Linked DNA regions of Homo sapiens: regions 1, 2, 3, 4, 6 and 7 are each linked to region 5. Evidence: promoter capture Hi-C in 16 types of primary human blood cells and fetal thymus (Javierre and others, 2016). All regions are on one chromosome and are shown on one strand. The core of a region is centred on a gene start or on the middle of the fragment in contact, and the rest is flanking DNA. Distances in the headings are between cores, read along the strand shown.

What was found. Contacts are between HindIII fragments. The CHiCAGO score rates a contact against its expected background, and 5 or more counts as called.
Region 1: a contact is called between a fragment that was not itself captured here and the fragment with the promoter of IPO8 in region 5, in 13 of 17 cell types (activated CD4 T cells, total B cells, naive CD8 T cells and 10 more). The highest score is 14.3, in activated CD4 T cells.
Region 2: a contact is called between a fragment that was not itself captured here and the fragment with the promoter of IPO8 in region 5, in 4 of 17 cell types (non-activated CD4 T cells, neutrophils, activated CD4 T cells and 1 more). The highest score is 6.7, in non-activated CD4 T cells.
Region 3: a contact is called between a fragment that was not itself captured here and the fragment with the promoter of IPO8 in region 5, in 2 of 17 cell types (M1 macrophages and neutrophils). The highest score is 5.8, in M1 macrophages.
Region 4: a fragment that was not itself captured here is called in contact with the fragment with the promoter of IPO8 in region 5 in 4 of 17 cell types (neutrophils, monocytes, total CD4 T cells and 1 more); the score reaches 7.5 in neutrophils.
Region 6: a fragment that was not itself captured here is called in contact with the fragment with the promoter of IPO8 in region 5 in 2 of 17 cell types (total CD8 T cells and total CD4 T cells); the score reaches 5.8 in total CD8 T cells.
Region 7: a fragment that was not itself captured here is called in contact with the fragment with the promoter of IPO8 in region 5 in 4 of 17 cell types (monocytes, M2 macrophages, M0 macrophages and 1 more); the score reaches 14.8 in monocytes.

Annotation. Positions count from the first base shown.
Region 1 is chr12:29,351,942-29,355,317 of GRCh38, forward strand. The region is part of intron 8 of ERGIC2 (ERGIC and golgi 2); the gene reads right to left. Among named protein-coding and RNA genes, the nearest start is that of ERGIC2, 28 kb to the right of the region's middle. The HindIII fragment of the contact is 992 bases long and covers 1,340-2,331 here.
Region 2 is chr12:29,400,316-29,403,367 of GRCh38, forward strand. All of the region lies in intron 1 of OVCH1-AS1 (OVCH1 antisense RNA 1), which reads left to right. It also overlaps a transcript of OVCH1 not described here. Among named protein-coding and RNA genes, the nearest start is that of OVCH1-AS1, 13 kb to the left of the region's middle. The HindIII fragment of the contact is 928 bases long and covers 910-1,837 here.
Region 3 is chr12:29,499,504-29,502,508 of GRCh38, forward strand. It overlaps TMTC1 (transmembrane O-mannosyltransferase targeting cadherins 1), which reads right to left. Exons shown (of 18, transcript NM_001193451.2): 18 at 1,337-3,005. Among named protein-coding and RNA genes, the nearest start is that of OVCH1, 3.3 kb to the left of the region's middle. The HindIII fragment of the contact is 1,829 bases long and covers 736-2,564 here.
Region 4 is chr12:29,441,231-29,444,596 of GRCh38, forward strand. It overlaps OVCH1 (ovochymase 1), which reads right to left. Exons shown (of 26, transcript NM_001353179.2): 24 at 2,915-3,050; 25 at 2,131-2,270. All of the region lies in intron 1 of OVCH1-AS1 (OVCH1 antisense RNA 1), which reads left to right. Among named protein-coding and RNA genes, the nearest start is that of OVCH1-AS1, 54 kb to the left of the region's middle. The HindIII fragment of the contact is 5,628 bases long and covers 1-3,366 here.
Region 5 is chr12:30,694,542-30,697,578 of GRCh38, forward strand. It overlaps IPO8 (importin 8), which reads right to left and starts at 1,328. Exons shown (of 25, transcript NM_006390.4): 1 at 1,023-1,328. The coding sequence starts at 1,106. RefSeq lists a silencer at 1,078-1,127 and an enhancer at 1,218-1,717. The HindIII fragment of the contact is 4,530 bases long and covers 1-3,037 here.
Region 6 is chr12:29,523,874-29,527,127 of GRCh38, forward strand. All of the region lies in intron 11 of TMTC1 (transmembrane O-mannosyltransferase targeting cadherins 1), which reads right to left. All of the region lies in intron 2 of LOC105369714 (a long non-coding RNA gene), which reads left to right. Among named protein-coding and RNA genes, the nearest start is that of OVCH1, 28 kb to the left of the region's middle. The HindIII fragment of the contact is 882 bases long and covers 1,237-2,118 here.
Region 7 is chr12:29,424,697-29,427,857 of GRCh38, forward strand. The region is part of intron 1 of OVCH1-AS1 (OVCH1 antisense RNA 1); the gene reads left to right. It also overlaps a transcript of OVCH1 not described here. Among named protein-coding and RNA genes, the nearest start is that of OVCH1-AS1, 37 kb to the left of the region's middle. The HindIII fragment of the contact is 5,763 bases long and covers 1-3,161 here.

The sequences.
Region 1 (3,376 bases), core at 586-3,085, 1.3 Mb before region 5:
CAATTAAATAGTGTCATTGCTTAATACGCAGGATGTTCTGCAGCCAAATTTGATCAAATAATCCATGGTACACTGTGCTTTAAAAATGCAACATTTGAAGTCCATATTTCTTTTTTTTAACATAGTAATACAATAAATAAATAAAATGTTGCAGGACAGGAATACACACAGCACTTTTAATGCTGTCAAATTATAACTGCATCACTACAATTCATAGTACACCAAAGTACAAAGTAATGAGAGAGTCATATATGGTCTCTGCCATAATTACTCAACTGTGGTACTGTAATACAAAAGCAGCCATATATAAACAAATGAGCATGGCTATATGCCAATAAAACTTTATTTTTGGACACGAATTTAAATTTCATATATTTCTCATGTATTATATTACTCCCCTTCTGATTTATTTTCAAATATTTAAAAATGTAAAAACCATGTCTGGGCAAGGTGGCTCACACCTGTAATCCTAGCACTTTGGGAGGCCAAGGTGAGTGGATCACCTGAGGTCAGGAGTTCGAGACCAGCCTGGCCAACATGGTGAAACCCTGTCTCTACTAAAAATACAAAAATTAGCCGGGCGTGGTGGTGGGCTACCTGTAATCCCAGCTACTCAGGAGGCTGAGGCAGGAGAATCACTTGAACCTGGGAGGCAGAGATTGCAGTGAGCCCAGATCACGTCACTGTACTCCAGCATGAGCAACAGAGCGAGACTCTGTCTCAAAAAAATAAACAAACAAATAAATAAACAAAATTTAAAAGCCCTTCTTAGCTCATGAACCATACAAAAACAGGTAGTAGGCTGGATTTGGTATATAAACTGTAGTTTGCCTACCACTGCAGTAAACCTTTGTTCTGTTATACACTGTTATCTTTCAAATTTAACCTGTTCTTTTAGCACCTTTACACTTCTACAAATAAGTACTATCCTTCCCTGTTCCTGGTTAAAAAAAATTAAAAAATCACCTTGAAGATCTCCTTTATCACAATCCTGCTTTACCCAGTTACTAATTCTAGCAATTAACTAAAAAACTGAAAATAGAAACTCTCCATAAAGGAGCCTTCTTTCTTTATAACCAATTAACTGTCTGTTACCATTGTCAAGTTTCAGAATATGCCCTAGTAGGTCTAAACATTGTTTAATTTGTTCTATGTGTTACCTAGCAAAACACCAGGCACTTTAAAAAAGGCAATACAATGATTAGGGAAATGTATTAACTGACATTCAACATAAAGTATACTAAAACCTTGCTCAATAAAGCATTTCCTGATGCACTGGAATGATTGGTAGTTTGGTCTCGTAAATTCTTCTGTGTTCACAGTCAAGTGTATTACCTCAAGCTTACTACTAAAAAGAAAGTCTACTGTCATAAATTATTACTAGCTCCAATCATATTGTCAGTCTAACAGTGTTCCTACTATTATTTTCAAACAAACAACAAAGTTTTTCTGAATAACCAAATTACAATACTACACGTTGAATATCCCTTATCCAAAATGCTTGGGATCAGAAGTTTCAAATTTTAGATTTTAGAATATGTACATTTTATTTGCCAGGGAGGCCTCCCTAACCTGAAATCTGAAACACTCTTAAGCATTTCCTTTGAGCATCGTGTTGACAATGCTCAAATTTGGAGTATTTTGAATGCTCCAAATTTGGAGCATTTTGAATTTCAGATTTTCAGATAAGGGATGCTCAACCTATACATTTTACTTCAATGATCTCTCTCACCACCCAGGATTTTACTCTGAGAGGAACAGAGAGCTGTTTTAAATAATATTTCCTTCTTTTTTTTTTTGTTAACAGGTGTATTCATTTTATGAAGTAACAGCATAAGTGAGCATCTTCTTCAAAAAATTAAATTTAAAAATCAAATTAAATCACCCTAGTACAGATGACTGTAGTTATCTGACACTTGTTAAAACTCTGCATAGGGAGGATGGATATTCAGAATTTACCTGTTTCTTTTCTGGGATATTTTCTACCCTATCAGACAAGAATCTAGCCTGAATGACTTTCAGTGGAGGAAAAGTTGTTCTGAAAATTGGTGGGGGGTGAAGAGAGGCATTTTGAGTTGTCAGAATTATTGGGAAGGGGTTGCTATTGGGATTTACTGGACAACAGCCACAGAAACAAGGCATCCTGCAATGAAATTGACAGTCTCACACAAAAAAGAATCATTCCAGGATTTGCCTGACTTTCAAATGTTCTAAGAGATACTCATGTACATGAAAAGCCTATTATAATAATCTGAGTCTAGAACTGAACCCCATTTAGCTATATAAAGTTGTAGTTTTAATATACACTAAATTTCCCAGAAAACTAAGGGAAGCTTATATTCTGTTTTGTTTAATATTACAAAGAGGTATTCCTATTTCTGAATATCATCTCATCAACGGAAATGTCACTCATGATATCTGAGTAGCCAATACATCTGTTTCAGTCTGCATTTGTAGCAATTATACACTTAAAAATTCTACATATAAGTGGCAAGCATCTGCCTACTTCATTATGTCTTCTAGTGTATTCACGCTCAAGCATATTGAAATACATATTGTGTTACAAATTATGTTCCTTTTATTACTCTTTTAAATTACAGTTGAGACTGACATTGTGTCTGAGAGGTAATATGAGACCTTCAAAAAGATCAATATTGAACTTGACAAATGTAACACTAAAAATTAGGAGTGGGTTTACAGGATATCCCTGAGATGACAAGATATGAACCAAATGCTTTTCTATTTGGCCTCTCTGATAGTGTGAGTTACCACCTGGGAAGGAAAGTGAAATTGTGAAAAGACCAAAAACAAATTTTAAAAAGGGACATAATATAGAGTCTGATTATAATATTTGTCAAAATTTCCCTCTTTGAGTTGGTTGTGGACTAGAATATTGTTTGTATCCAAAGGTGCAATAAAATCTGCTAAATTTCTTTAAGCTAAGATTTCAAGACATTCCAAGGTTCCCAGCAACAGGTTGGGTTGGAGATGGGTAATGGTAACAAAACAACAAAACATAAATTTCAAGAGATAATGAGGAAAAAAACAAATGTTTGATCTGAGTATTGTAAATACTGAAATACTTTTTCATAGAAATCTAATGTTATCTCTATATGTATTTTATAAACTTCCAGCCATGCTCTTTCCTGCTGTATGCCCTTCCCTCCTTTATATATTAAATTCCTCCTCTTCTCCTAGTGTTCAAAGGTCTTCCTCAATAAAGTCTCCACTGACTTGCAGCGTACATTTAATACCTTGTTAAATAGTCTCTTATCAGCCATACTTCTCCTTTACAGGCTCAATACAACTATAATTAAATAATTATTAATGTATTCACTGCTTAAGTGTGGATTTTCTTATAGAATGTCAGGCCTAT
Region 2 (3,052 bases), core at 124-2,623, 1.3 Mb before region 5:
TGGCACTACATCATTGAAACACATATCAGAAAGAAAAGGTGAAGGGTTAGAGGAAATGAAGTAATGTAATTTATGACTTAAGAATGAACAAAAAAATTTTCCAATGATCCATGTGACAGGAGAAACTCACACTATGTGGAGTTGTTGATAGGGAAATAGCTTGTTACATAAGAGATGGTGTATAAAACATAAATACTAAACTAAACCAAGTCAACTATTATTTAAACCTTAAAACTCAGCTCAAATATTACATTCACTTATTCCTGCAGAAAACAGTAGTTGTTCCTGCCTAGGCTGCTGGCTTCTATAGCATGTTGAATAGTAGTTATCTTCATGTATTGTTTTTCTCTATTATAATGAGATTCTACAGATGAAAGCTTTCTCTTTCTAGGTGTCTCTGTCTGGCACACAGTAGGTGGTCAAGAAGGATTTTTAAAAATACATGAATAAAAATCAGGTTATGAGTTCTCTAAGTTCTTTAAATTTGGCCATGTAACCCTTACATCATAGATAAATTTACACAGTTGATGGCAACGAAATACATAGAGAGCTTCACATTGAAACACAAAACGGAGCCAGGCATGGTGGCTCACTTTGGGAGGCTGAGGTGGACAGATCACGAGGTCAGGAGTTCGAGACCAGCCTGGCCAACATGGAGAAACCCCATCTCTACTAAAAATACAAAATTAGCTGGGCATAGTAGCGGGTGCCTGTAACCCCAGCTACTCAGGAGGCTGAGGCAGGAGAATCGTTTGAACCCAGGAGGCGGAGGTTGCAGTGAGCTGAGATCATGCCATTGCACTCCAGCCTGGGCGACAGGGCAAGACTCTGTCTCAAAAAAAAAAAAAAAAAAAAAAGAATTACAAAAGAGAGAGTGGTTCTTGGAAAGAAGGCCAAAGAAAGAAAGAAAGCTTATGCGCCCTCCTCAATTAAATTGGCTTTCAACTAGAGGAAAAGTAAAACAGCTCTAACACAGTAGGTCCTATTAAAGATTGAATATGGAAGAACTCTAAAATTATAGCCAAACAGAAGCCAAAAACAGAACACCAAATAGCCTGTGACTCTCTTAGGGAAATCAGGTGGCTACTCTGGGTCAAACAGGGGGTGCTAACCTTGCACCCTTTGCTGAAGGACCTTGAGAGCATCATCCTCTAGGGGCTCAGAAAACAATGCCCCAAAATGAAGGCCTCAGAAGCAAACATTTCCTGACCTTGTCCTGCTCTCCAATTTTTCAGTCCCATTCTCCCCCATAGATAGCCATAGAAACTAGGATCCCTCTTCCCCAGGGTAGGTCATAGAAATCAGAACCCATTTTGCCAAAGTCAGCCATAAAACCTAAAAATATTACTCTAACTTCCTGCTGCTCCAGCCTTTCTGTGTAAAAACTTGCCATAAAGAAATTATCTGACTTACCTTGTTTGACTGTAGGTCATCAGACCCCCATTTCAGAGAGAGAACTGCCTCATACCAGTAGGAAAAAATGCATGCTTAGAGAGCCAAGAGAATAGAGACAGACAAGCCTCACTGGGTTTCCCCACTCAGTCTGCCAGCATTAAATCATACACTTTTTGTCAAATCATATCTCTACATGGCTCTCTGTACTAAGCATAAAAATGGACAATTTCTCCTGTATCGTCTCATGTGTATACATGTTAAACAAATTTGTATGACATTTCTGCAATTAATCTGCCTTTTAGGGTCCATTTTTCAGTAAACCTTCAGACTTGGCCCCTACTACACCCAAATCACCACCCAGGGAAGTCACAATAGCGATTGTGTCAGCAACAAAATTAATGGCCAGCAGATCAAAGTGTGAGGGGAAAAAAAAGAAAAAAAAAGCTTTAGACAGGCCTGACATTTCATACAATACAACTTTAATCCCCTTTAATATCATCTAATAAAAAGAAGAGATCCACAAAAGACAAAGTAAAAATGGTACAAAACAGATTAACATGAGAATTAGAGAATCCCTATTGCAAATCTCATCTTTCATTTTTCCTCAGTGTTCCTATCCAAAAGTATAACTTAATGAAAGCAGAACCTTTAGACCAATATTCATGTGAGGGTTTTTAGTAAATACTAGGACATTTATAATACTTTCTCATTGTAGCATTTGCAAAGGAAAGGAAAGGTTGAGAGAAAAAGAGAGGAGTTGGGCAGAGGGTTGAGAGAAAGAGGGAAAAGAGAAAGACAGAAAAGGTTGGTAAGAAAAGGAAAGGGAAGGGGAAGGGAGGTTGGTTGAAAGAGAAAGATGGAGGGCATTGAGAAAGAAGGATTGAGAGAGGGAAGGAGGATGAGAATTTGGAAGAGTATAAGAGATTGGGGAGAGGGAGAAAAGAAAGGAGAAGAGGGAGGTTGTTAATTGAAAAAAAAGTAGAGGGATTGAGAAAGAAAAAGTGATTAACAGAGGTGAAAAGGGAGAGATGGATTGAGAAGTTGAAAGAGTGTAAGAAGTCCAGAGAGATGGGGTTAGGGAGGGGGAATGTAAAAGGGAACAGGAGGTGGGGAAGAGAGAGAAAAGAGGTTGAAGGAAAGGAAGAGAGGTTAAAAGAGAAAGAGAGTGAGAAAAGAGGGAAGTTTTATTTTCTAATACCATTACAGAAATATTTTGTGCTCATATTTGACTTCCAACTTTTAAATCAAGGTTCATTAGACAAAGATTATTAACCAGTTTCAATGAAGCCTCAGTTACCTCCAGCCTTAAATACAGACAGAAATATTTGGGAAACATACCATTTTGTTCGAGAGTTAAGGATTCCTAATTTAAGTATATAAGCTTTTTGACTTTAATTTTGAAGAGCAAAATTTTCATAATGTGGATGTACTAAAGCTAACATCTTGATGTATTATTGTAATTACAATTATTAGGCTGAATCATATAAAGTAGCTAATTTTCAAACTTTTTAATCTACAGAAATGGCAGCTTAATAATTCAAACTTTTATAATTTAATCACAATATTGAGTTCTATAGGAAAGAAATCCTGAATATTATGCTTTTCAAAGTTGTTTGAATATATATATGTAAATTTTCTATTTCCTTATGAATTGCTG
Region 3 (3,005 bases), core at 400-2,899, 1.2 Mb before region 5:
ACTCCCTTTGTTTCCAGAGTTCAAAACCCACAGCTTCAACTGAGACCCTATTCTTATATACAAAGGTTTAGTCCCTTACAGGCCTCACATAATAATGCCTTTCCATTAAGTGGAAAAAGAGCCATTCAATAAGAATTACACACCATTAATAGCCAGGCCATAGGCCAGGCGCAGTGGCTCACGCCTGTAATCCCAGCACTTTGGGAGGGTGAGGCAGGCGGATCACCTGAGGTCAAGAGTTCGAGACCAGCCTGGCGGCCAACATGGTGAAACCCCATCTCTACTAGAAATAAAAAAAATAGCCGGGTGTGGTGGCACATGCCTGTAATCCCAGCTACTCGGGAGGCTGAGGCATGAGAATCGCTTGAACTAGAAGGCGGAGGTTGCAGTGAGCCAATATCGTACCACTGCACTCCAGCCTGGGTGACAGAGTGAGACTCCATCTCAAAAACAAACAAACAAACAAAAAAAGCCAGGCCATTAGTTTTAGTTTTAGACTCAAATTTTCTAAAAAAGTAATGGTTTCAATATAAATTGAGTTTGTAGTTATATTAAAACATCCAAATGGAAGAATCCTCTTTTTATGTTTAAAATAACTTCAGAAAAGGAAAGGATACCAAGGAGAGGAGTGGACTGGACTACCCCCAGACAGTGGTGACTTGTGATGTACAGCAAATCTGTCTTTAATTTGGACATCTTCACTAGTATAGGACAACTGTGATCTGCTATTCGAAAAGCTTGGCTGTGAAGGGCAGACGGAGATGTGATAGCAGCTACAGATAAAATGAAACAGAGGATTTTTTTTTTCAAATTGTTTCGGTGTTGATTGCCTGTGTATGTGCTTTAAGAAGAGTAGAACTGACAAATTGACAAGAGCCAGCAAAAGGAAGAAGTAAAAAGATGAAGGAGAAGTTAAGGCATGGAATGAAGTTCCATAAGAGGCAAAATGCAGAACCTAGGGTCCTCTTCTTCCATTACGATAACAGGAGAAAAGAAAGGATAGAATTAGGTGCAGGTAAATGTATAGATGAAGTGCAGGGCATTGGGGGACAGCTGCTTTCTACCTTTTATTTACTCTGTGAAGAGAGAGGTGACAGCATCTAAGCATGATAGGGGAGCGGATCTGGAGTGGGTGAGTACTGAATTGGCACTGTGCGGAGGAAGGGAAAGAGAGCAGACAGGAAGCACACAGAATAATGCAATGAAATGAGTAAATGAAAGAATGAAGGAAGGAAGATGGTCCTTTTTAAAACATTGTTAAAACAGACACTCCTGGTGACATGGACATCAGTAGGTACTAACCATGAAGTACTTGAGAGATTGAAACCAGACATACTTATTTTAATCATATTTTATATAAAATAGACATTTACATAAATTTAATTTTGGAAAGACCTAGGCAAAGTATACATCATTAGACTCAATGGGAGAAATACTTTATGGAAGATAAATTCTAACGGGCACAGCCAAAGTAACAAAAATGTACATTTACATACAACTGATCCAAACAGGAAGTAAAAGCATTATGAAAAAAGAACATGATGCAAATCATTTCCCCCTGACAAAAGGAGGGATCTGCGTGAATTACAGCAAATCAAATGATTTCCACATTATAAAAGCAAGCCATGGCTTCTACAGATATTTTAATTCCTTGGGAGGAAGTTTCACCTCATCTTTTTTCCCCAGTAAAGTAACAATCACTGTAGGAATTTTTAAGTGCACAAACTGCAAAATAGGAGTAACTACCTCTGCCATGTTCAAGCACTTGGGCAATTCAGTCACTTTTAGGGTTGTATCATTTAAAAAAGGGGCAACATTTATGAATTATCTCATCAGATGCATGGTGTTTTTCAATCCAGATTCAAGAGTAACTATTAGAGTTACTCATTGAGCTTAATGGAAACATCAAACCGACGAGTCCTTTCATGGGTGGTAAACATGACTGGGAGACAATGGCTAACTTGCCCCAGGTAAGGTGGCTCTTCAGTGGCAGAGCTAGAACTAGAACTAGAACTCAGATGTCTTGATTCTTGGGGTAGTGTACCCCTCCTATGGACCAGCAAGATAAATAACCCCCAAAGGACATCACACATACTGAAAACTACCAAATTTGTTACATATATATATATACAACGTGTACTACTGAGAATGCAAAGAAACTACTGGATTTTTAGAAATAGACATGTCTCTCCAGGTAGGAGTCAATGGTGATCTATGCTTACAAACCAATAATGACCATATATTGTGGTGGATGCTGATTTTATGAGTTACAGGCCCTAAAGATTTTAATTGAAAAGATCAATTAAAATCAATATTTTAATATCAGCCAATTGATTGTTATAAAGATCTTATCAATTCTGTTGTGCCACTTTGATTGATATTAAACCATACTTTTGATTGCAGTTATTTTCTGTTCTCTTTAAATTACATGGCTACAAATAAAATATTGAGGGAAATAATATTTTTTGGAAGAACTATTCAGCATATTTTCCTTTTGCATCAAAAACGTCAAGAATAATCATAAAATCTTATAATATTTCTCTATATTATTTTTTGACATCCTAAGCTTTTATCTTATTCAACTGCAACCTCAATGCTAGATTTGACAGGTACTTAATTCTTTTTAAATGTCAAAAGATACCATTTAAATAGCTAAGTTAACCTATATTTGGGAGATACCAACATATAATCAAATCAAAGTAAACATAATTTGGAAACCAGGAACAAAAATTTTTAAAAAATCACCTCTCACTATATTTGTTTTGAATGTCATTCCTAATATCCTCTAAATTTATTATTTTAAGAAGGTGAATCCACCACAAATCAAAGCAAAAGTTTTTTTTTTTTTCAAAAACAGATTCTAACAAGTACAAAGAAATAATTAACAAAAGCTCATGTGTGCCCAAAATAAAGATAGAGATGTAGGCATAAACTCTATACCATGGACACCTTCTATGAGTCACGAAAATATCAGTCATATATATACTGGCACTTAGTCTGGTACA
Region 4 (3,366 bases), core at 862-3,361, 1.3 Mb before region 5:
TACAGTAACCAAAACAGCATGGCACTGGTACCAAAACAGAGATATAGATCAATGGAACAGAACAGAGCCCTCAGAAATAACGCCACATATCTACAACTATCTGATCTTTGACAAACCTGACAAAAACAAGCAATGGGGAAAGGATTCCCTATTTAATAAATGGTGCTGGGAAAACTGGCTAGCCATATGGAGAAAGCTGAAACTGGATCCCTTCCTTACACCTTATACAAAAAATAATTCAAGATGGATTAAAGACTTACATGTTAGACCTAAAACCATAAAAAACCCTAGAACAAAACCTAGGCATTACCATTCAGGACATAGACATGGGCAAGGACTTCATGTCTAAAACACCAAAAGCAATGGCAACAAAAGCCAAAATTGACAAATGGGATCTAATTAAACTAAAGAGCTTCTGCACAGCAAAAGAAACTAACATCAGATTGAACAGGCAACCTACAAAATGGGAGAAAATTTTCGCAACCTACTCATCTGACAAAGGGCTAATATCCAGAATATACAATGAACTCAAACAAATTTACAAGAAAAAAACAAAGAACCCCATCAAAAAATGGGCAAAGGACATGAACAGACACTTCTCAAAAGAAGACATTTATGCAGCCAAAAAACACATGAAAAAATGCTCACCGTCACTGGCCATCAGAGAAATGCAAATCAAAACCACAATGAGATACCATCTCACACCAGTCAGAATGGCGATCATTAAAAAGTCAGGAAACAACAGGTGCTGGAGAGGATGTGGAGAAATAGGAACACTTTTACACTGTTGGTGGGACTGTAAACTAGTTCAACCATTGTGGAAGTCAGTGTGGCGATTCCTCAGGGATCTAGAACTAGAAATACCATTTGACCCAGCCATCCCATTACTGGGTATATACCCAAAGGACTATAAATCATGCTGCTACAAAGACACATGCACACGTATGTTTATTGCGGCACTATTCACAATAGCAAAGACTTGGAACCAAGCCAAATGTCCAACAATGATAGACCGGATCAAGAAAATGTGGCACATATACACCATGGAATATTATGCAGCCATAAAAAATGATGAGTTCATGTCCTTTGTAGGGACATGGATGAAATTGGAAATCATCATTCTCAGTAAACTATCTCAAGAACAAAAAACCAAACACCGCATATTCTCACTCTTAGGTGGGAACTGAACAATGAGAACACATGGACACAGGAAGGGGAACATCACACTCTGTGGACTGTTGTGGGGTGGGGGGAGGGGGGAGGGATAGCTTTAGGAGATATACCTAATGCTAAATGACGAGTTAATGGGTGCAGCACACCAGCATGGCACATGTATACATATGTAACTAACTGCACATTGTGCACTTGTACCCTAAAACTTGAAGTATAATAATAATAAAATAAAAAAAAATAAAAAAAAGAAATTTTATGATGGGGAAACTTCTACACAATTGTAATACCAAATTTAATAATCCTTTTCCTCTCTTTATGTTTTTCTCTTTATTTTATTAAGAATAGATCCATATACAACTAAGTAATGTCAGCTAAAGTATGAGATAAAATATGTTAAAATGCAAATATTTAGGAAATTCTGCCATCAAAGAGAAAAATAGGTATTTCAGTAGCATTTTTCTCATTGACAATTCTAGTATTTATCAACTTGTAAAGATGTTTTTCCCAAATTAAATAAAAACAACGATTTGTGCCAAAAAAAAAGAAAATAATGAGTTTAAATTAAAGTAACCAGGCTTCTAACTCCTACCAATTGATAAACTCATGTAATGCCTTTTGCTGTGATTATTTTGCCTTATTAATTTTATAGTCTTAATTTTCTTGTGTTTTTGTCTAAAACTGCTTCATTCATTCTTTATTTTTAGTATTTCTGAGCAATTTTAATCTAGGTATGATCCATGTAAGAAACGTTGTTGGACTTTGTTTTTAACTAAACCTGAGGAGATTTTATATCTTAATTTTAAATCTGACACAAGTTTAACAGTAAGTCTATTTCAACATCCTATAAGAAGAGACTAGTGTATGTCACATGTAAGCCACATACTGAATATGAAACAATCTAAACATGTTTCATCAGAGAAAAATCAGTAGCATAGAGATTCATGGGAAATCAGTTACCTATTAATTTTTTTCCTGGTCCAAATCCTTCGTAAACACGCAGATGACCATGACAGACAAAAGTTGTTGGCTTCATCGGGAAGTTAATAATATTAAGCTGAATGATGTGATTTAAAGGGGCTACTAATCTCCATTGGCAACTATGGCATAGATGAAACAAAGTCAGAAATTATTTCTAAACAGAATATATTGTTAGTTATTTTGCTCAGAAATTAATGCATCAATGTTATTGACCCCCAGTGAGCCTTATTTTTTGTGTCTGTTTCCTTATGGTTGTGAGAGAGAAAGATTTGTACTTTAAATTATATCAACTTTATTATCTAATACGTAATTTGCCAAAATTTATAAAGTTCATACATTATGAATGGCTGACCAATTGTGTGTATTGTTTTAAATTCTGATTGAAAATTTATAAGATCTGAAGGACCTATATGTGCCAGAATTTGCCCCAAACTCCCACACATCATTTATTAAGTATCTACTATGTACCCAAATATTTTACATACATTATATCAGCCTCCAACATTCTTTGTAAAGATTTGACTTTTCACTTTGCTAATACATGGTCTATTTTGTTGAGAAAGTACAATTGATAAACAAGGACATTCTTATATTGTTTTGTTTTGTTTCCATATTAAAAGCCATAGATTAGGGGTTACCTAAGAGTCTATTCTTTTTGGAAAAAAGGTGAAGAATAATGTTTTAAGCAAGTACCAAGTGTTGATGTCAGTCAAGCAATTTTTTCCACACACTTCTTCCATTATAATAATCATGACTTCCTTACCCCATAGTAGTTCTGTGAGAATTTCTTGGGATCTGCATGATCCCTTCTGGCTTGGTCAGAAGAACATCCTCACAAGGGACCAAGTGCTCTCTGTTTGAACTTTGGGAAAGTCTGGTTATTTTACTGTCCTTTGGACCTAAAAGAACAGGAAGCAGAGAAAATGAGAATAAAACCAATTTTTAACAGGCTTCCTATATGCCTTTTCAGATCAAGGTAAACAGCTCTCTTCCCTAATTGTCCTGGGAAAACAAGTAATTATTAGGAGGTGGTTGGTTTCACTGAAAATTTTCTCCGTCTTAAATATTCAAAAGGTATAGGAAACAAACACATCTCTCAGATGATCTCTGACATAGCCTAGGGTCTATGGAAGATTATAGGACACAGCTATAGATAATACCTGTTAACTGCCTAATTCCATCTGAAAGCAGTATTCTTAATATATTCTTCCAAGA
Region 5 (3,037 bases), core at 78-2,577:
AGAATCACCTGGGGGAGCTAGTTAAAATACAACTGGTCCCACCCCCACAGTTTCTGATTCGTTAAGTCTGGACTGAAGCCCCGTAATTTGCATAATTTGTAAGTTCTCAGGTGATGCTGAAGCTCCAGGTCCTGGGCAACGCTTTGAGAACAGCTGATTTTGGAATATTTACATTTTACAAGTCATCACAACCTAAAACAGCTGTTGCTCCATCCCAGTGGTAGCTCTTAATCCCTACTTTTTAGTAAGAGGTCTGTGATTCTTAAGTACCGGTAGGGAAGAAGAAATAAGCTGGAGTTTGGGATCATTAAAATTTTGAAGTGTGGGGGTAACGCTGGAAAGACGTCAAGGCTAATTAGGAAGAACAGGAGACGGAGAAAAGAAAGAAGTCTTACACATTTTAGCATTCATAAGAAATTTCTCCAACACATCTTACTTTGATGTGTCTTAGATAAAGCAGTATCACCATGAAAACTGCCTATTCTTCCCAGAGCACTCTCCCAACAGCACTGCCCAGCGCTCCGCAAAACTCGGCCAATCGGTGTCAAAACAGTCCTGCCAACCCGACAGGAGGAGGCGGTGGGCAGCGTGCTCCACAGCAACACCTAAAAAGGGCTGGGTTTGGAAAAAAGCTGAACTCAGATTTGAACTGTAAGTAAAATTCCCACCTGCTCCCCAAGTCCGCGCACTTAAGGAAAATAAATCACACCCTGAAAACACTAGCACAGGTTGCAAAAACTGCTTCTTGCGGACCAAGTAGGCAGAACAAACTGCCCTGGAGAAGGGAGACGACACGAAAAGGTGCAAAGGTGGCCAACAGGTGCGCGAGCTGTTCGGCAAAGATCCTGGGAGCCCTGCTCCACTGGACCGGGGGGCAGCGGGGTCGGAGAGCGGGACCAGCCGTGAGGCGTCAGCCCCAGCCCGGTGGGGGTGAGGACGAGGGGCGCCGGGGAGAGGGAGCCCGGCCAGCCGGCAGGGGCGCCCCTTCGGCGGAAGAGGGTCGCCGAAGACCCTCTCCTCACCTGGTTGAGCTCGTTCTCGGCTGCAATCCGCAACTTCGGGTCGATGGTGCCCTTCAGCGCCTGGATGATCCGGTTGAGGTCCATCTCCCCGGGTGGGGGCTCCGCGGCCCCCGGAACAGTAGGCCGGACTGCAGCTTTAGTTTTCTTTTGACCCTCTCAGCCTCCTCTTCCGCGACCCCTGGATTACCTCACACCCCACCCCCCGCCACCGTCGCCACCTGCGGCCACTTGCTGCGCCACTCTGACTCCGCGCCCCCTGTCCTCCCTTTTTCCCCCCCACAACTCGCTCTCCATTCACCGTTTTACGACAGCCGGTGGGAGGCGGGAGAAGGAAGAAGAGGAAGCAGAGCTTCCTTTACGGCGGCCTCTTCCCCCGGGCGTGATGCTATGACCGCCTCCCGTCGGCGGCCGCCATGCTGCTGTACGGAAAACGGCCTAGGCTTCTTTCCCGGAAAGGAACCCGCGCTCCCGAACTCAGGCAGGCGGCCGCTATGCTTCCGTACGGTAAACAGCCTCCCGCCTCTTCCCAGGTGAGGAAACTTGAGCTGGCCGGGAGTCTGCTTACAGCTGCTTCCAAATTAAGCATATCTGGATGGTGTGACACTTTTTGTTAGTCCGAGAACTGTATGGGCATCGCAACTGGGCCTGTTCCAAGATAGACTTGTTGGGACCTTCAAATCATGTACCTTACAGGAGGACAGGGTTCCTCCGTGTGTGGGAGTCATCGTTCATTCATTCATTCGCTTTCACTGAACATTTGTTAAACATATATTTTTGAACCAGAGTACTAGGATTTTTAGGTACCACATTATAACAAGATGAATTCCATGCAAGTTAATGTGAAGGAATTCACAACCTGATAGATGAGACAAATATAAACAAAAAAAATTTACAGTGTAGAAATGATAGGGGAGTGCTGGGAAGGGAAGAGCGTGGTCCCTTTAAATGATAGGGATGGGCGAAGTGAAGTGCTGGGTAGAGGAGTGTGTGGTCCCTTGCTAGGGCTCCACGCCCACCGACCTAGGTGAGGACTGACACTCCTGCCTTCCAGCCCAAATGTTGCATTTCCCAAGACCACCCTGGCCTGCCACTCCCCCATACTGTGCCTATGAAAACCCCAGACCCTAGCAGGCAGGTACACAGGCAGCCAGACGTCCAGAGGAGCATAAGGGTGGAAGAAGAGGAGCTCGCTGGCACATCCGCAGGCCATTCACGGGCAGAACGATGCGGAGGTTGGCCTGGGCAGTCGGAAAAGAGCCCGGGCCGCCAAGCGGCCTAACTCCAGAGGAAAACCATTTCCCTTCTGGGTCCCTCATCTGCTGAGGGCTACTTCCACTCAATAAAACTTTGCACTCATTCTCCAAGCCCACGTGTGATCCAATTCTTCTGGTACACCAAGGCAAGAACCCAGGATACAGAAAGCTCGCTGTCTGTGCGACAAGGTAGAGGGTCTAATTGAGCTGGTTAACACAAGCCCCCTAAAGGCAAACTGAAAGAGCATCCTGTAACACACACCCACTGGGGCTTCAGGAGCTGTAAACATTCACCCCCAGACTCTGTCAAGGGGTCGGAGCCCCACAGCCTGCCGGTCTGTATGCTTCTCTAGAGGTCTGAGCAGCGGGGCACTGAAGAAGCGAGCCACACCCCCAATGCACGCCCTGTGAGGGGGACAAGGGAACCTCTCCCATTTCAGAAAGACAAAGGTCACAGAAACTGAAAACTACATCCCTGAGAGTTTTATGAAAAATTTTCAGACCTTCTCAAAAATGTAGTGAAAGGTAAGCAGAAAAGTTATACTGTTTCTATCCACTGTGGCCATATCTGGCGCCACAATTTCAATGGCATGAAAATATCAAGGAGCTGGTTCTTCCTGAGGTTAACCCAGAAGAGAGGGTTCTAATTACATTTAATAAAGATGATGATGTGGGCAAAACACAGCTGAGGGGCTGTGATCTTTTCAGGAGCAGATAATTAAGATAGATTGGGTCAATTAACTGAGTTCAATTGAGAGAGTA
Region 6 (3,254 bases), core at 428-2,927, 1.2 Mb before region 5:
TTGGTTTGGTCTGGTCTGCTGGGGCCTATTGTATGAACTCAGTCCAAAATAATGGCATCTCCTAATTTTGTTTAACAGTTTCTTCCTTTTGGTTATGATTTTACTTAGGTGAGTGTGACCATTAGGCTTTTAACGCCATTCTCAGTTACCATTATTTTAGGGTTTTGGTCTCAGTACATCATTTATTGGTTATGATGTCTTTATGAGAACACTCTTTTTTGAGTTTTTGTCATCTCAATTAAAGAGAGACCATTTGACATTTTACAAATGGCTGTATGTAACCATTGAAAACTTTTGAGGGAACATAGTGTGCCAGAGAGACAATTATAATGATCAAGAAGATCAAATCAAGAGTTTGGAGTATGCTCCTTAGTCAGCATCTCCATGAACCAAACCAACTAAAATGAAATAGATCAAAGAATGAGCCAGAAAAGGAGTCTACTTGTTTTAATCAAGCAGTCTGTTTATTAATACCCTACAACCAAATCTCTGTAATAGTCAATGCATTTATTTACATGTAACAAATAGAGTCAGTAATGGTACAGATTTTTTTCTGTTTATCCAGTAGACAATCTAGAGTAATTTTATTATCCAGCACAACCTTAGCAAGAGAATTTAAAGATGACTTTTGTGTAATCAGTCTTTGTAGTACAATCTGTTATGGAGCCTATTATGAGGGATGAATTGTAATCATTATCTCCTTTAAATTATGGGAAAAGGGGCCTAAGAATTATGTCTAGAAGAGTGTAAAGAAACTCCATGTTTAAACTTCACTAGAAGAGTGAAGGCCCCTGGCAGTGTTGTTTTAAACCTATGATGTAGGTTAAAAGGAATGAACCAATGTTCTGGTTCTGACTGATTATGGAAGAATAAAGATGCCATTAAATGTTTTTGCTCACATTGGTCCTGAATCTTTTCTACCCAGGCATAAGACTGTCAATGTATAATGCTGGCTGCAAAGTCCTCTACAAATAAAGTTATACCTCATGATGTACACAAATCTCCCTTTTTAGTTTTATTGTTTATAGAGGCATAAGCAAGGAAAAAATTAAGAGAGGTAAGAGTCTGATGATAGCAGAAAAGTCTTGATCTGTGATCTTGGGAAAGCTGTCCATGTCTAGGATGCCATTTGTTTTGGGGAGAAACTTTCCTGATTAGCTTTATCTTAAGGTTTCAAATGGGTGTATAGGTCAAAGAGTCTGGAGGGCCCTTTTCAGTTGTGAGATTATGAACCTAAGCTTTGAGGTCCCAAAGTTTTGCTGTAGTGTGGGTGGCAAGGGCAGTCTTTTTTTTTTTTTTTTTTTTTTTTTTTTTTTTTTTTTTTTTTGAGATGGAGTTTTGCTCTGTCACCCAGGCTGGAGTGCAATGGCAGGATCTCAGCTCACCGCAACCTCCGTCTCCTGGGTTCAGGCGATTCTCCTGCCTCAGCCTCCCAATTAGCTGGGATTACAGGCACCCATCACCACACCCAGTGGCTAATTTTTGTATTTTTAGTAGAGACAGGGTTTCACCATGTTGGCCAGGCTGGTCTCGAACTCCTGACCTCAGGTGATCCACCCGCCTTGGCTTCCCAAAATACTGGGATTGCAGGTGTGAGCCACTGTGCTCAGCAAAGGGCAGTCTTTTTCTGATATCATTTTCAGAATATCCAGTCTCTGGGTTTTAGACCATGAAGGGTTTGATTGTCCACAGTCACTGATCATGAAAAGCCTTTTTTTTTTTTTAAATCTAGCGAAAGTATACTTTGGCATGATGTATTAAAGCCTTGTAGCATTTAGTCATATCAGAGTTTCAGACCAGAAAGTAAATGAGGTTTTGTTATTAGGGATATGGGCCCTCTACCGACTATTTTAGAAAGGCCAACTTACGTTTTCCCCTGGAAGTGGATCTGATTATCCACTGTATCCACTGTAATACTTTTGAATAAGACAATCTAGTTGAATCAGTTACCTTTGCCTAATGCTATTGTATCTGAAATACCTTATTTGTTTTACAACTTGTCCAGTGAATCAAGTGCCTTTTATTGCTAGAGATTTTTCTAGGAATGTCCCATGAGGGAAACACACTTTCTAATAATGTTTTAGCTACTATTACAGCCATCAGATTTTTGTATGAGAAAGCTTTCATATAACCAGAAAATACGCATTAAAAATGACAGTTGAATGAAATTTCTCTATAAATGTTTAAATGGCCCATCAGGTAGCAGAAATGTACCTGAAGTTTTGATTGTCTTCCCAGGATTATGAGTTTGACCACCCAAATATTAGTCAACCATTTTAGCAATTTAGAATAGTCACCATACCAATAAATACTTTAAAAATGTAACCTGGATCAGTTTATCCCTCCTATGATGAGTGATGGCATACAGAACTTTTAACAATGAAAGCTTGAAGGACTTTGGAAGGACCAGGTGGCCATTTAGGCTCTCCATGAGTATATGCTTAATACTGAATTTAGATCCTCTCAAAAACCAATTTTGTTTTTCAATTCAGATGTATAGCACTGTTTATTAGGTGGGCCATCATAGGTAATTTGAATTGGACCATAGAAGTTTATTTAAATTGTATACTTAAAACATTTTAGTGAGAGCTGATTTAGCATGAAAATCTGGCAAAGTGTTTTCTTGGTATTCAATTAATTCTTGTCTTGCTTGGGTTAGAAGTTTTATAACCCAGTCAGTCTCTTCATTAGAGTTTTGGGAATTCTTAATCCAAATAATGTGATCTTTAAGTTATCAGAAACCTGTTTTCAAGAGTGCTTGTCAGGGTTCTTTTCATCCTTTCTGTGAACCTCCTTGAAGATACGCCATTCTAGGATTTTACTTCTTTATCAAGAGCTTTTAGAAAATGTATCATAATTAAGCAATTAACTATGGAAAAGTTAACTATGGTCATGGTTAAAGATGTAATTGACAAAAAAGTTGTTTTTTTTCTCCTGTGGCCTATAATAATTTAATATAATAACCATAATTATGATGGATAACATACCAAGACATATCAGAATTTTAGGAATCTCATAATTTTGGAACATATATTAATAATGTATTCATAAAAACATAACTCAAGGCTAAACATTACTTATTTGACAATGCTTCTCATAGTTTAACATGTCAAATAAGTCTATAAACTCTCTTTTGGATGCTGCAGAAGGCCTCTGCAGAGTGTCTCAAGTTAGTTGAGGTCAAAAAGACTTCATTTCCAACTTGAAATTTGATTTAAGGAAAGAAGCCTGTCAAATATGTCAAAGGTTTAAAA
Region 7 (3,161 bases), core at 130-2,629, 1.3 Mb before region 5:
ATCTGCAAAATGGAGATAATAACTCCATAATAACCTGCCATATTAACTATATGGCAAGTTATTCAATCTCTGTCTGTGCCTCAGTATTCTCATCTGCAAAATGTAGATAAAAACAATATTTTCTTAGGATTAAATCAGTTGGTATTTACAAAGTATTATACATATTTGTTAAACGAAAATAAACCTCAGCAAAATTTTTACAGCAAATTATTAGACAGATGGTTTTTGAACACTTGGAGGAGGAATCAGTGGTCATGAGAAGGCAACATGGGATCCTTAACACGCCACATTAAATTAACCTAATTTCATTTTTTAAAAGAGCTAATTAGATGGTGGCTAGGGGGAATGGGATGAACTTAATGAACCTTGACTTCAATGAAGCACTTAATAAAGTGCCTGTGATGTCCCTGTGAACAGACAGCAAATGGTACGTAGATAATTATGTGGCTAGGAAGTTCCACAGGTGATTAAATAACCATACAAGAAATGTTAACCTGGAGGGAAGGTCTAAATGGTATGGAAATGATTCTGTCTTTGGTTCCACCGAGTACGGTATTTCATTGATGACTTAGACAGAAATACAGAAAACACATTTATAAAGCCTGTAGGTTGAAGATAGGTGGCTGGAAAAGGGGCTAGTTTAAATACAGGCTCCTAGATTATTAAGTTGAACATTACACCTAATACAGAGTTTACTCTAAAATAATCCAAAACATATAATGCTCGCCTTGAAGATATGACCTGGAACTTATCAGCATTTTCTCCTTTTAAACTGATCTAATTTCTAGACTGTTCTTCCTCTCCTTGTGTCAAAAGGCATCAATGTGATGACTACCACGTGGTTAGAATAGTGGCCAAGAACACAGAGTGCTTCAGTTGAGTCCCACGTTTTCTACTTATTAGCGATGTCACTGGAGGCAATTTATTTAACAGTTTTGTGACTTGCTTGTCTCATATTTAAAATGAAGATAATGTAACCTACCTACATAAGATTGTTAAAAGATTAAGAGTTTTCATCTTCATGAGATTGGGTCTTAGCTCAACAATGCCTGGATAATGGTAAATATTTAATAAGTTATTAGATAATATTAAGCAGAACAAGTTTTGTACATGGCCTGAGAACCTCTCCATGAGAATTCCATGTATATTTAAAAAGAATTATGATCCTTCTGTCTTCTCTCTTCTCCAAGGTAAACATGCCCAGGATGTCCACACCCTTCTACATCCTGCTCATTATGCTCTTTGGATGCACTCCAGTTTGCCAACGTTCCTTAAATTTGTGTTTGACCAAGGGGGATATTCAAAATATTTAGTAACCAGATTGCACACCAACAAGTAAAGAACTTGTGAGACTCAGCTAGTACTATGGTACTATGATTCCCTTTATCTTTTAATTCTTTACTATCGCTGCTCTGAATTTGTAATCATTTGACACCTCTGGAATTAGTTCAAACATCCCACTTTCTAAATCACCACCTCCTAAGTATATTAATATTTCTTTGCTACAATTATTTAATCTCACCATGACCTTCTAAGCCATTGATCCCATAAACTTCCTAAATCCATCAACCCTTTAAAAAGTGAGAAATTTTGCTTTAAAAGGAAGCAGAGAAATGGGATAATTGCTGACTTACATTAGTTTTAGTTTGTTTTAAATGATAGATAATATTAGAACATGTTTGAAACTGATGAGAATGATAGAGAAGATAGACGATGTAGGAGAAAGGATAACTAAATTAGTGAGAAACTGAAAAGTCCCAAATTGATATCTATAGCTCCAAATCCTCCACTAGCTCAAGAGTTCTATCTCTAGCTAACTAGTGGCAACTCAATCTGGATATATCAGAGCAATGTTTTTAGCATGGCCCAAACAGATATCTCTCTATAAATCTTTTTCTCCCTGTCATATTTTCCATCTCCATAAATGCTTTCTCCAGTGTCTCACATCATAAACCTAAGAGTCATTCTTGATTTGCATACTGAATTCCATATTCAATCCATCAGGAAATCCTCTCCATTCTATCTCCAGATCTGTCTACTTCACTCGCATTCCATTATTGTTATCCTCCTCTAAAGCAACATCATCTATTGTCTAAAACAGTGCAATAGAACTTTCTGCAATGATGGAGCTTTCTATATCTTTGCTGTCCAATATGGTAGTCACTCGCTACATGTAGCTACTGAGCACTTGAAATGTTGGTATTGTCACATTTTACTTCATTTTAACTAATTTACATTTAAATAGCAACATGGATTGGACAGTGCAGGTGTAGACAAGAGCCTCATAACTATAGACACAATTCACTTTGTCACTCCAGATCAGCCTTCAAATTACTCCCCTGTCAAAACTTATGATGACCTCCTATTGAACTGGAATAAAATCCAAAGTCACTATCATAGCCTGAGCTGCACAATTGGAGAAAGCCTCTCTGCTCCACCACCCCACTTCATTCTAGTCTGTCCTTGCTCAATCTCTCTCTAGTCACTCTGACCTCTGACAGTTCCCTAAGTTACCAAGCTCTTCCCTCATTCAGGGCCATTTTTTCCACTTTTTCTTTTAAAAATCAAATATTTTCTGTCAAGCAGTGCTTTAGACATTGAGGATACAGCAAGAACAAAAGAGACAAAGTTCTGTTGCCAGGAAATTTTAATTCTGGTAGAAGAGACAAATTATAAATGAATGAAAGATAATACTCCATCAGGCCATGATCAATCCCTAGAAGAAAAGGTTAAGGAAGGCTATTTAGATTGTATGATAGAGGAGGTCTCAGGTAAGGTAGCATTTGAATGATTGAGGACGTGAAACTTGAGACAGAATGTGCTTGGTTAGAGGCCTCTTCCTCCATGTGAGGACCCAGTGAGAATGGGCTGTGCCTAAGAACCAGAAAGTGAGCCCTTAGCAGGCACCAAATCTGCTGGCACCTGGATCCTGGACTTCTCAGCCTCCATACTGTGAGAAATAAATATTTGTTGTTTGGAAACCACTCAGTCTATGGTATTTGTTATAGCAGCTTGAATGGGGTGATAGCCTAGCTAACGGGGAAGCCAGGAGAGTAGCAACAGGGGTCTATATTCATTAGGTCCAAAATCTTTACAGAAATTGCATGGTTCATTGAAGTAAAATTGTGCGAGCTCACAAATAAATGCAAATCCCTTCACTG